Linked DNA regions of Homo sapiens: all the other regions are linked to region 2. The links are contacts of gene promoters, found by promoter capture Hi-C in blood cells and fetal thymus (Javierre and others, 2016). All regions are on one chromosome and are shown on one strand. The core of a region is centred on a gene start or on the middle of the fragment in contact, and the rest is flanking DNA. Distances in the headings are between cores, read along the strand shown.

Region 1 (4,049 bases), core at 391-2,890, 440 kb before region 2:
AAAGACATTAGCTATGTCAATGCCTGCATACCAAGTGACAGAAATTATGTTGATTTATCTAGTAAAGGCATTACATTTTGAAAAATGGCGGTAATTGGAGTGATCACCTAAGTTCATGATTTATGAATGATTTCAGTGTGGTAATTGAGTGACAGGTTATGATTCTCCACTGGGATAAATCCAGTTTTTGGCTACTATAGTTTAGACTTTTTACATAGATGGAGCAGTATTCAAGTACAGAGATTGGTACACTATGGCCCATGGGCCATATCTGTCTCTCCATGTGTTTTTTGTATATAAAGTTTAATCAGAACACAACCGTGTTCATTTGTTTACATTTTCTATGGTATTTTCCATGCTACAACAGCAGAGTTGAGTAGCTGCAACAGAGACCATGTGGCCCATAATGCCTAACATATATTTTGTGGCTCTTTAGAGTAGGCTTTGTTAACTGCTTATCTATTTCATTTCTAGGGACAGCACGATCAGTTAGCCACCACCACAGATCTCTGTAGGTCAGGGCATTCTGATTACTGGTACATTTCCACTGTCCTTGATAGTTGATTTTCTCACCTTGTGTTTGGTGATTAAATACTACCTTCTTGATTTCTGCTATTCTGGGTCCCCTTCATCTCGATTGAAAGCAGGGAACTCGGCTGGGTGCGGTGGCTCACGCCTGTAATCCCAGCACTTTGGGAGGCTGAGGCGGGCAGATCACCTGAGGCCAGGAGTTCTAGACCATCCTGGCCAATATGGTTAAACCCCGTCTGTACTAAAAATACCCCCCCCCCTCGCAAAAAATTAGCCAAGTGTGGTGGCAGGTGCCTGTAATCCCAGCTACTTGGGAGGCTCAGGCAGGAGAATCGCTTTAACCCAGGAGGCGGAGGTTGCAGTGAGCCTAGACTGCGTCATTGCACTCCATCCTGGGCAACAAGAGCAAAACTCCGTCTCAAAAACAAACAAACAAACAAAAAAACCCAGGGAACTCATCTCAGTGATGGTATTCTTTGCAGTCATACCTGTCCTATGAAGGAGAATACCAACAGAGCTTTTCAAGGATTACGACACTCCCGCCACTACTCTCTTAATAACCTTTGTGAAGAGAGTGTCTTCTGCTCTGTCAACAAAGGGCGGGGGAGTGGGCTATACAGATGACACATAGTAAATCCAGTGCAACACTCCTGTCTCTCTAGGATTCCCTCCTTCACATTATGCCAGGGAAGCTCTGGCATATGAGCCTCATTAATTATAACAATTTCAGCCCTGAGAACATAAGAAATAACTTTATTTCAGGGGTGTCCTAAAGAAGCTCTCTGATTCTTTTGTTTTTGGATGGAATCTTGCTCTGTTGCCCAGCCTGGAGTGCAGTGGCATGATCTCGGCTCACTGCAGCCTCTGCTTCCTGAGTAAAAGCGATTCTCCTGCCTCAGCCTCCTGAGTGGTTGGGACTACAGGCACGTGCCACCACGCCCTGCTAATTTTTGTATTGCTTGAACTAGGGTGGGCGGCGGCAGAGGTTGTAGTGAGCGAAGATTGTGCCACTACACTCCAGCCTGGGGGACAGAGCAAAAATCTCTCAAAAAGAAAAAAAAGAGAGAGAGAGAGAGATGTAATACTACCCATGATATAAGAAAAGCTACAAAAGACACAATATTCGAGCTTTTGACGATATCGTAAAAAAAAAAAAAAAAAAAAAGATCTCGGCCAGGCGTGGTGGCTCACACCTGCAATCCCAGCACTTTGGGAGGCTGAGGTGGGCGGATCACCTGAGGTCGGGAGTTCAAGACAAGCCTGGCCAATGTGGTGAAACCCTGTCTCTATAAAAATACAAAAAAATTAGCCAGACCTGATGGTGGGTGCCTGTAACCCCAGCTGCTCACGAGGCTGAGGCAGGAGAATCACTTGAACCTGGGAGGTGGAGGTTGCAGTGAGTTGAGACAGTGCCATTGCACTCCAGCCTGGGTGACAGAGTGAGACTCTGTCTCAAAAAAAAAAACAAAACCAGAAAACAAAATAATGATCTCTCTTTGCACTTGGATTATTTCCTATTTGAATACACGTTTTAATGGTTTTTATTTTATTTTTTTTAAGACAGGGTCTCACTTTGTCACCTAGGTTGGAGTACAGTGGTGCAATCATGACTCACTGCAGCCTCAACCTCCCCAGGCTCAGGTGATTCTCCCACCTCAGCCTCCCAAAGTTCTGGGATTACAGGCATGAGCCACTGCGCCCAGTCTTTAATGGTTTTTAAATGTGTATTTAAGTCTGAATAGTGGGTATTTGGTCAGAGATAACCAACTCCTCAGGGCACAAAAGGATGAGATATATGAAATTTGAGCTCTTTTAAAATAGTTTCACTACTCTCTTTAGGAATATAGTTGTTTTTTTCTTGGTTACGTTTGTCATTTCCTTCATAAGCCTCTTCCATTGATGTATCTTTCCCTCTGTACAGGACCTATTCAAACTCAGTCTGTCTCTTGACTGGAGGAGGAGAAGGAAAAGTTGAGCACATTGCCAACCGGAGTTCCCCAAGGTGAGTATGAAGAACACTCCTGGTCAATGAGAAGTTCAGTATGTTTGGAAGCATAATGAAGATATATTTAAAAGATGTACTTTGTCACAGAACATGGGGCCATTGGACTTGGAAGTTTTAGGGTATCTTCAACTTTCCATATTCCTCTCTTTTTCATCTAACCCAGACTTTCATGTGATTTTGCAAATGAGTGCTCTTTTATCTTTTTGTTTATGACTTTAATGTGTGCTCTTTATCCAGATCATTTCTATTTTCCTTCCCTAATACTATTTCTGTTCATTATCTCATTTAATTTCTATAGAATAAATTGTTTAAAAAATTACTAAATTGCTGGGCATGGTGGCTTATGCCTGTAATCCCAGCACTTTGGGAGGCTGAGGCGGGTGGATCTTTTGAGGTCAGGAGTTGAGACCAGCCTGGCCAACATGGAGAAACCCCGTCTCTACTAAAAATACAAAAATTAGCCGGGCCTGGTGGTGGGCACCTGTAATCCAAGCTACTCGGAGGCTGAGGCAGGAGAATCGCTTGAACCCAGGAGGTGGAGGTTGCAGTGAGCCGAGATCATGCCACTGCACTCCAGCACTCCAGTCTGGGTGACAGAGCGAGACTCTGTCTCAAAAAAAAAAAAAATTACTAAGTTTAGACCCCAAGTCCTTACGATTGCCAAATGTTCGTCATGGATAAACTGTTCAAATCTATGTCTGTTTAATTTTTTTGAGTGTGCTGAATATGACAAATAAAAATGAGCTTTATAATTCTGACTTATTTAACCTACTGTTTTGTTCTCAGACCCTATTTTTTTTTCTTTTTTTCTGTTTTACTTCAGAATGGCAAGTTAAAACCAAAGTGTCAGCACCTCAACAACATTTTTTTTTGGCTTAACAAAACATCAAACGGCATACAAATGGTAAGATTAAGATTTCTTATTTACCACACTCAAAAAAAGATTGGGATTCAATTATAAAAAATCAGCAAAAATGAGAGATATTTGAGAGAGGTAACATTTACTCAAGCAGGAGGAATGTCTCTAGAGCAAGGGTCCCCACTGGTACTGTTTCTGTTAGTGTTAGGAACTGGGCTGCACAGCAGGAGGTAAGTGGCAGATGAACGAAACTTCATCTGTGTGTATAGCCATTCCCCATCGCTTGTATTACTGCCTGTCATATACTCCACCTGTCAGTAGCAGCATTCGATTGTCATAGAAGCACAAACCTTACTGTGAACCACCCATGCGAGGGTTCTAGATTGTGTGCTCCTTATGAGACTGATGATCTGTCACTGTCTCCCATCACCTAGATGGGACTGTCTAGTTGCAGGAAAACAAGCTCAGGCCTCCTGCTGATCCTATTTTATGGTGAGTTGTATAATTATTTCATTATATATTACAATGTAATAATAATAGAAATAAAGTCACAGTAAATGTAATGTTGTTGAATCATGCTGAAACCATCCCTATCCCACCCCTATTCCACCCCTGTTTGTGGAAAAATTGTCATCTACGAAATCAGTCTCTGGT
Region 2 (3,985 bases), core at 868-3,367:
TTCACGCCATTCTCCTGCCTCAGCCTCCTGAGTAGCTGGGGCTACAGGCACCCACCACCACGTCCGGCTAATTTTTTGTATTTTTAGTAGAGACGGGGTTTCACCATGTTAGCCAGGATGGTTTTGATCTCCTGACCTCGTGAACCGCCTGCCTCAGCCTTCCAAAGTTCTGGGATTACAGGCTTGAGCCGCCGCGCCCAGCTTGTTTGTGTATTTGTTTTAAGAGGCAGAGTCTTGCTCTGTTGCCCAGGCTGGCATGCAGTGACCCTATGAAAGCTCACTGCAGCTTCCAACTCCTGGGTTCAAGTGATCCTCCCAACTCAGCCTCCCAAGTTGCTGGGACTACAGACACGTACCACCGTGCCTGGCTAATTTTTAATTTAATTTAATTTTTAAAAAATGTTTACTATAGATGGGTCTTGCTACTTTGTTCAGGCTGGTCTCAAACTCCTGGCCTCAAGCGACCCTTCTGCCTCAGCCTCCCAAAGTGCTGGGATTATAGGTGTGAGCCGCTGTGTCTGGCCAGGAACTCAATTTGTGAAGCAAAGGGCTGAGATGGGCTCACTGCACCATTCAACTGTTCACATGCTGTGATTCTATAATATGTTTGCCCCAACTCCTGAGTCATCATTACAGAATTTCCTTAACTTATGGGTTTATGAGAACAGCAGGCTGATGTTTTGACATTGCCGGCATACATCAATTCTTTACTTCCTGCTTTGGGGGCCCCAGAATCAATTTCTCAAGAATCTGGATAAGCCAGAAGGAACAGGAAAGGTTTGGCGCTGACTCACACAGGACTCCTCCAGGAATCAGTGCCAAGGCTCAGGGGTTGCCTGAACCAGGGGCTGCACCAGTAATAATAGGAAGAGTGGGTGCAGTGGCTCAAGCCTGTAATCCCAGCACTTTAGGAGGCTGAGGCGGGTGGATCACTTCAAGTCAGGAGTTCAAGACCAGCCTGGCCAACATGGTGAAACCCTATCTCTGTTAAAAGTATAAAAATCAGCCAGGTGTGTTGGCACACACCTGTAGTTCCAGCTACTTGGGAGGCTGAGGCAGGAGGATCACTCAAACCCTGGAGGAAGAGGTTGCAGTGAGCTGAGATCCCACCACTGCACTCCAGCCTGGGTAGCAGAGCGAGACTCCATCTCAAAAAAAAAAAGAAAAGAAAAAAATAATGGAAAGAGGGTCTGATGCATGGCTTACTGTTAAAATTTTCTTTATTAACATTATCTGTGATACAAATGAAAGACAGATGAAGGCAAATAAAAATAGTGGGAGGGGCTTATGCTGCTAGATAAAGAGGGCTTAATTTTTATTTTCACAAACTGTAATGAGAAAGGGAAATTGGTGGGTGAGAAAGACACTGATAGGGTACCTAGGAAGGAAGTAAAGAACAGGCTGGGCATGGGGGTTCATGCCTGTCATCCCAGCTATTTGGGAGGCTGAGAGAGGAGGATTGCTTGAGCCCAGGGGGATGAGGCTACAGTGAGCTATGATCATGCCACTGCACTCCAGCATGGATGACAGAGAGAGAGAGACCCTGCAAAGAAGAAAGAAGGAAAGAAAGAAGGAGGGAAGGAAGGGAGGAAGGAAGGAAGGAAGGAAAGAAAGAGAGAGAGAGAGAGAAAGGAAGGAAGGAAGGAAAAGAGAGAGAAAGAAAGAGAGGGGGGAAGGAGGGAAGGAAGGAAGGAGAAAAAGAGGAGGGAGAGAGGGAGGGAAGGAGGGAGGGAGAGAGAGAAAGAAAGAGAAAGAAAGGAAAGGAAGAAAGAAAGAAAAAGGAGAAAGAAAGAAAGAAGGAAAGAGAAAAGAAAGAAAGAGAAAGAGAAAAAGAAAGAGGAGGGAGAGAGGGAGGGAGGGAAAGAAAAAGAAAGTAAGAAGAAAGAAAGAAAGAGAAAGAAAGAAAGACGGAGGGAGAGAGAGAAAGAAAGAAAGAGAGAGAAAGAGAAAGAGAGAGAGGGAGAGAGAGAAAGAAAGAAAGAAAGAAAGAAAGAAAAAGAAAGGAAGGAAGGAAGGAAGAAAGAAAGAAAGAAGGAAGGAAGGAAGGAAAAAAGGTCTATAACTTATAACTGGTTTGGTTTTGATAATATTGACAAGATCAAGACTCATCAACAACATGAAAGCAGGAAACTTCTCAGACACTCCAGAATTCTTTCTCTTGGGATTGTCAGGGGATCCGGAGCTGCAGCCCATCCTCTTCATGCTGTTCCTGTCCATGTACCTGGCCACAATGCTGGGGAACCTGCTCATCATCCTGGCCGTCAACTCTGACTCCCACCTCCACACCCCCATGTACTTCCTCCTCTCTATCCTGTCCTTGGTCGACATCTGTTTCACCTCCACCACGATGCCCAAGATGCTGGTGAACATCCAGGCACAGGCTCAATCCATCAATTACACAGGCTGCCTCACCCAAATCTGCTTTGTCCTGGTTTTTGTTGGATTGGAAAATGGAATTCTGGTCATGATGGCCTATGATCGATTTGTGGCCATCTGTCACCCACTGAGGTACAATGTCATCATGAACCCCAAACTCTGTGGGCTGCTGCTTCTGCTGTCCTTCATCGTTAGTGTCCTGGATGCTCTGCTGCACACGTTGATGGTGCTACAGCTGACCTTCTGCATAGACCTGGAAATTCCCCACTTTTTCTGTGAACTAGCTCATATTCTCAAGCTCGCCTGTTCTGATGTCCTCATCAATAACATCCTGGTGTATTTGGTGACCAGCCTGTTAGGTGTTGTTCCTCTCTCTGGGATCATTTTCTCTTACACACGAATTGTCTCCTCTGTCATGAAAATTCCATCAGCTGGTGGAAAGTATAAAGCTTTTTCCATCTGCGGGTCACATTTAATCGTTGTTTCCTTGTTTTATGGAACAGGGTTTGGGGTGTACCTTAGTTCTGGGGCTACCCACTCCTCCAGGAAGGGTGCAATAGCATCAGTGATGTATACCGTGGTCACCCCCATGCTGAACCCACTCATTTACAGCCTGAGAAACAAGGACATGTTGAAGGCTTTGAGGAAACTAATATCTAGGATACCATCTTTCCATTGATGTCTCAGCTTCTTGGGCTTACACTGCTGGGATATGTCAGGGAGAAAGAAGTAATGAGAAGTCTTGAAAGCCTGACTAATGTCTTTGGGGTTTTCTGTTTTTGTTTTTGTTTTTGTTTGTTTGTTTGTTTTTTGAGATGGAGTCTCGCTCTGTTGACCAGACTGGAGTGTAGTGACGCAATCTTGGCTCACTGCAACCTCCGCCTCCTGGGTTCAAGCGATTCTCCTGCTTCAGCCTCCGGAGTAGCTGGGATTACAGGCACGTGCCACCAAGCCCAGCTAATTTTTCTATTTTTAATAGAGACGGGGTTTCACCACATTGGCCAGGATGGTCTCGAACTCCTGACCTCAGGTGATCTGCCCGTCTCAGCCTCCCAAAGTGCTGGGATTACAGGCATGAGCCACTGTGCCCCACCTGACCAATGTCTTTGAATACATGAGACCAGAGATCAGATGGTTCAGGGTGATAGTTTTGGAATCGGACCACGTGGACTTGAGTTCTTTTTGGATTGATTGACTGACTAATTGATTTTTGAGACAGTCTCTCACTTTGTTGCCCAGGCTGGAGTGCAGTGGTGTGATCACAGCTCACTGCTGCCTCGAATTCCTGGGCTAAAGCGATCCTCTGGACTCAGCCTGACGAGTAGCTGAGACTGCAGGTGCATGCCACCACACCTGGCTTTTTTTAAATTTTTGTATCAATGCATAAGAGATGTACATTGTTTCAGGATGCATGTGATAGTGTAATACATTTGTATAATCTGCAAGGATTTGTTACTTTAGATATCCATCACCTTAAATATTTGTCTTATCTTTATGCTCCAACCATTCCAATTGTTCTCTTCTAGGTATTTTGAAATATACAATGGATTATTTTGAACTATAGTCACCCTACTGGTCTATCCAATACTAAGTCTTTTTTTAAAAAAAA
Region 3 (4,250 bases), core at 1,334-3,833, 410 kb before region 2:
GGAGAACCTTTATGTCTAGCTCAGGGATTGTGGAAACACCAATTGGCACTCTGTATCTAGCTCAAGGTTTGTAAACACACCAATCAGCACCCTGTCAAAACAGACCACTCGGCTCTACCAATCAGCAGGATGTGGGTAGGGCCAGATAAGAGAATAAAAGCAGGCTACTGAGCCAGCAGTGGCAACCCCCTTGGGTCCCCTTCCACGCTGTGGAAGCTTTGTTCTTTTGCTCTTTGCAATAAATCTTGCTACTGCTTACTCTTTGGGTCCATGCTGCCTTTAAGAGCTGTAACACTCACCGCAAAGGTCTGTAGCTTCACTCCTGAGCCAGCGAGACCACAAACCCACCAGAAGGAAGAAACTCTGAACACATCCGAACATCAGAAGGAACAAACTCCAGACACGCCGCCTTTAAGAACTGTAACACTCACCGCGAGGGTCCACGGCTTCATTCTTGAAGTCAGTGAGACCAAGAACCCACCAATTCTGGATACGTTAGGACCTGGCTCAGCTTGGCGAGGAGCAGCCTGAGGGGGAGGGGAGAGGTCAGATGGGTCCATAGAAAAGGAGGATTCAAAGGACAAGAAAGAAACAAGAAAGATTTGGGATGAGTCACATTGGGAGCAAAGACTAGGGACGGACCAATGTGTAAAGAATGCCTGGATGTCAGGCATCTCAGACCATTTGCCCATTTTATGACAAAAATTATCTAGATCTTGTAGGATGGAGAAATCAAAAGTGCCATTTTCTGGCCATTTAGAACCATTGTCAAGTTTGTACTGGGGCCAAGTGGTGTTGCAGAAGAAAATAAGGTATTTAGGTTTTAGGTCAGGTGTGAGTTGAATAGGTTTTAAGTTCTTGAGAACACAGGCTAAGGGAGAAGAACAGGGAATGGAGGGCAGAAGATTGCCCATAGTGAAGGAGGTAAGTTTAAAGAGAAAGGTAGAGACATGGAGAAGGCAGTGGAGTGGGGTGGGGGTGAGCAGCCCTGGGCTGTAATGTGGGTAAGCAGCCAAAGCAGGCAGCCCTGCAATTGACTTGCCACCAAGGGAATGTGGGTGAATGATCAAGGCAGGCATCCCCACAGTGATCAGACACCAATGGAATGTAGGTGAATAATCAGGCAGGTATCCCTACAGTGATTAGCCACCAAGGAAAGACTGTCTTCCTGAGTCCGTGACTGGAGCTGGAGTTTTGGGTCCACAGATAAAATGTGTCTCCTTTGTCTCTACTGGAGAGGAAAAAGAACTGGAATTGGAAGGACAGAGAGATGGAAGGGTAGTGAGAGAGGCTGGAGAAGAGAGTGAAGAGACTGCTTACCCAATTTGAAATTGGTGAGATGTTCCTTGGGCTAGTCTGAGGACCCGAGGTAGTAGGTGGAGCTCCTCACGGAGTGAGGGTGAGGACGGGGCCAGTCTCCCAAGGGAGTCCCCCTGTCCCAGGTTTCGGAACCAAATGTTACACACATCCATGTGAAGAGACCACCAATAGGCTTTGTGTTAGCAACAAGGCTGTTTATTCACTTGGGTGCAAGTGGGCTGAGTCCGAGAAAGGGGTCAGCAAAGGGAGATAGGGGTGGGGCAGTTTTATAGGATTTGGGTAGGTAGTGGAAAGTTAAAGGTGGTTATCTTTTGCTGGCAGGGCCGGGGGTCACAAGGTGCTCGGTGGGGAACTCCTGAGACTCGTCCAGAAGAAGAATGTCACAAGGTCAAGAGATCAGTTGGGGTGGGGCAGCAACAAATCACAATGGTGGAACGTCATCAGTTAAGGCAGGAACTGGCTGTTTCACTTCTTTTGTGGTTCTTCAGTTGCTCCAGGCCATCTGGATGTATACGTGCAGGTGACAGGGTTTATGATGATTTAACTTGGGCTCAGAGGCCTGACAAGTAGTTCAAGACCAGCCTGGCCAGCATGGCAAAACCCTGCCTCTACTAAAAATACAAAAATTAGCAGGGTGTGGCAGCATGCACCTGTAATTCCAGCTACTTGGGAGGATGAGGCAGGAGAATCGCTTGAACCTGGGAGGTGGAGGTTGCAGTGAGCTGAGATGGCTCCACTGAACTCCAGCCTTGGTGACAGAGTGAGATTTTGTCTCAAAAAAAAAGAAAAGATGTTTTAAAGCAAGGCAGAAAACCTAGAAATTATTTTTAAAAACAATTCTTTTAGCTGCATAGAAAATGTTTTTTACATCAAATGTTGAAATAGTAACAGAGCAAAAGACGTAGTTACCTATTTTCTACATGCATAACACATTGGCTCCTTCCCCTATGGCCGCCCTGCTGCGGCCTCGCCCACAGGCCTGGCTATAACTTCAACCTTTTCCTCTGGGCCTGGACCCACATTCCTCCCCGCCCCCTGCCCGTAGCCCTGCCCACAGGCTTGGCTCTAACCTCGACCTTGCCTTCTGGACCCATTTCTGCCTGCAGCCCCCACGCTGAGCCCACCCCAAGGTCCTCCGCAGCCAAGCAGATGGAAAGTAGAATTTTTCTGCCTCGAGGAGGTATTACACGGCAGAAACCCTAGTCCCGAAACCCCGCCTGGCCCGAGGCGGAGAGCGTAAATGACGTCAGCGGTGCGCCGTTCCTTTTGTGACGCCGGCTGTGAGCGCCTGAGAGTCTTTTTGCCTTTCAGAGTTAAGGCCTCACTGGCCTGGGTGAGTTCCGAGGAGATGAACTGGTTTTGGGGTGAAGGACGGGTTTGGCCCGGACGTTAGAGAGGCCTGGCCCGCTCTGCTCGTGTCTGCTGGGCCCGCTAGCGTCCGCTCGGACCGTCGCTCCTCGGGAGGAGTCGGGTTTATAGTTACGGTGTCCGCAGGGTGTTTTCATCTGTGCGCCCCTCTCCAAAGGCCTCCAAAGCAGCGTTTGTGAATTTTTTTCCGGCAGGAAAATAATTGCTGCCTTTTGCATCCGCGTTGGCTCCGTCCCCAGGATCTTCCCGGTTCAGGGACCTGGCGATTTCTGAGTGTTCCGGTGAGCACTGGGTGAAAGTTGGTTCTAGGGGGCCTTTTCTGTCTTCTCTTATGCAAACGAATGTTTCATCTGTAAGTTTGGTTTCGTCTTATTGTGTTGTGTTTTATTTTTGACCATTACTTTCATGGCGAAAGATAAAGATGCTTTTTAGGTTTATAGGGTGTGCGTATTTGTGTATGTGAATATAAACGTTTGTAGACCGCAAGTCTTTCTGCTAAAGAATACTAAGAATAATAATTCATTATCTTCGAATGGAGTTCCTAGGCCTGTACATCCCAAGAGAGCTTCTTAATCAGACCTCCAGAGGGAAAGGATGAAGGCTTTATTATTCTAGTATCACAATAATCAAATTTACAATGAACAGGATGGTTGGATTAAGGAGTTTGAAACCAGCCTGGCTAAGATGGTGAAACCCCGTCTCTACTAAAAATAGAAAAAAAATTAGCCGAGCGTGGTGGTGGGGTCTTGGAATCTCAGCTATTTGGGAGACTAAGGCAGGAGAATCACTTGAACCCAGGAGGCGGACGTTGCAGTGAGCTGAGATCGTGCCACTGCACTCCAGCCTGGGAGACAGAGTGAGCCTCCGTCTCAAAAGAAAAAAAAGAGAAACGAAGGATGTGTGCATTTTAAGCTACATTGATTGTATATCAATGAAAAAAAAAAAAAGCTGGCTGGGTACAGTGGCTCACACCTGTGATCCCAGCACTTTGAGAGGCTGAGGCAGGAAGATCTCTTGAGCCCAGGAGTTTAAGACCAGCCTGGGCAACATAGCAAGACTCCATCTCTCCAAAAAAAAAAAAAAAAAAAGAGTTAAATATTCTATACAGATGCCACCAAACTGAATATTTGTGGGCCTAGTCAGCCCTAGGACCCCTAGTTTGAGACCCCTGGGAGTAGGTGTGATCTATACCAGGAGTCCAGAACTGTGGTTTTTGTGACTTTAGGGTTTTAGTCTTATTGGTAGAAGGAGGCCTATAGAGTTTTTGTGAATTTGGTTCATGGATAATGAACTGCGGAACTTTCACTGTTTATCATCATTTGACTCCCATTCTGTAGGTGATTGTTTGAGCCACTGTTTCATGTTTGATTAATTAATGATTGTCATTATTATTATTATTATTTTTTTTTTGAGACAGAGTCTTGCTCTGTCACCTAGGCTGGAGTGCAGTGGTGTGATCTCAGCTCCCTGCAACTTCCATTTCCCAGGATCAAGCGATTCTCCTGCCTCAGCCTCCTGAGTAGCTGGGATTACAGCCGCACACCACGCCCGGCTAATTTTTG

What was found. Contacts are between HindIII fragments. The CHiCAGO score rates a contact against its expected background, and 5 or more counts as called.
Region 1: a fragment that was not itself captured here is called in contact with the fragment with the promoter of OR7G3 in region 2 in 2 of 17 cell types (total CD8 T cells and naive B cells); the score reaches 5.2 in total CD8 T cells.
Region 3: the fragment with the promoter of ZNF426 here is called in contact with the fragment with the promoter of OR7G3 in region 2 in 4 of 17 cell types (non-activated CD4 T cells, total CD4 T cells, total B cells and 1 more); the score reaches 7.6 in non-activated CD4 T cells.

The regions. Positions count from the first base shown.
Region 1 is chr19:9,567,486-9,571,534 of GRCh38, reverse strand. It overlaps ZNF121 (zinc finger protein 121), which reads left to right. Exons shown (of 4, transcript NM_001008727.5): 2 at 2,453-2,533; 3 at 3,360-3,440. The coding sequence starts at 3,438. Among named protein-coding and RNA genes, the nearest start is that of ZNF121, 15 kb to the left of the region's middle. The HindIII fragment of the contact is 7,355 bases long and covers 1-4,049 here.
Region 2 is chr19:9,125,082-9,129,066 of GRCh38, reverse strand. It overlaps OR7G3 (olfactory receptor family 7 subfamily G member 3), which reads left to right and starts at 2,117. Exons shown (of 1, transcript NM_001001958.1): 1 at 2,117-3,055. The coding sequence starts at 2,117. The coding sequence ends at 3,055. The HindIII fragment of the contact is 3,002 bases long and covers 1-2,827 here.
Region 3 is chr19:9,536,978-9,541,227 of GRCh38, reverse strand. It overlaps ZNF426 (zinc finger protein 426), which reads left to right and starts at 2,583. Exons shown (of 8, transcript NM_024106.3): 1 at 2,583-2,653; 2 at 2,883-2,969. ZNF426-DT (ZNF426 divergent transcript) reads right to left here and starts at 2,562. Exons shown (of 2, transcript NR_134921.1): 1 at 2,230-2,562; 2 at 1,498-1,822. RefSeq lists enhancers at 362-1,561, 2,216-2,285, 2,486-2,535, 2,542-3,277. The HindIII fragment of the contact is 12,585 bases long and covers 219-4,250 here.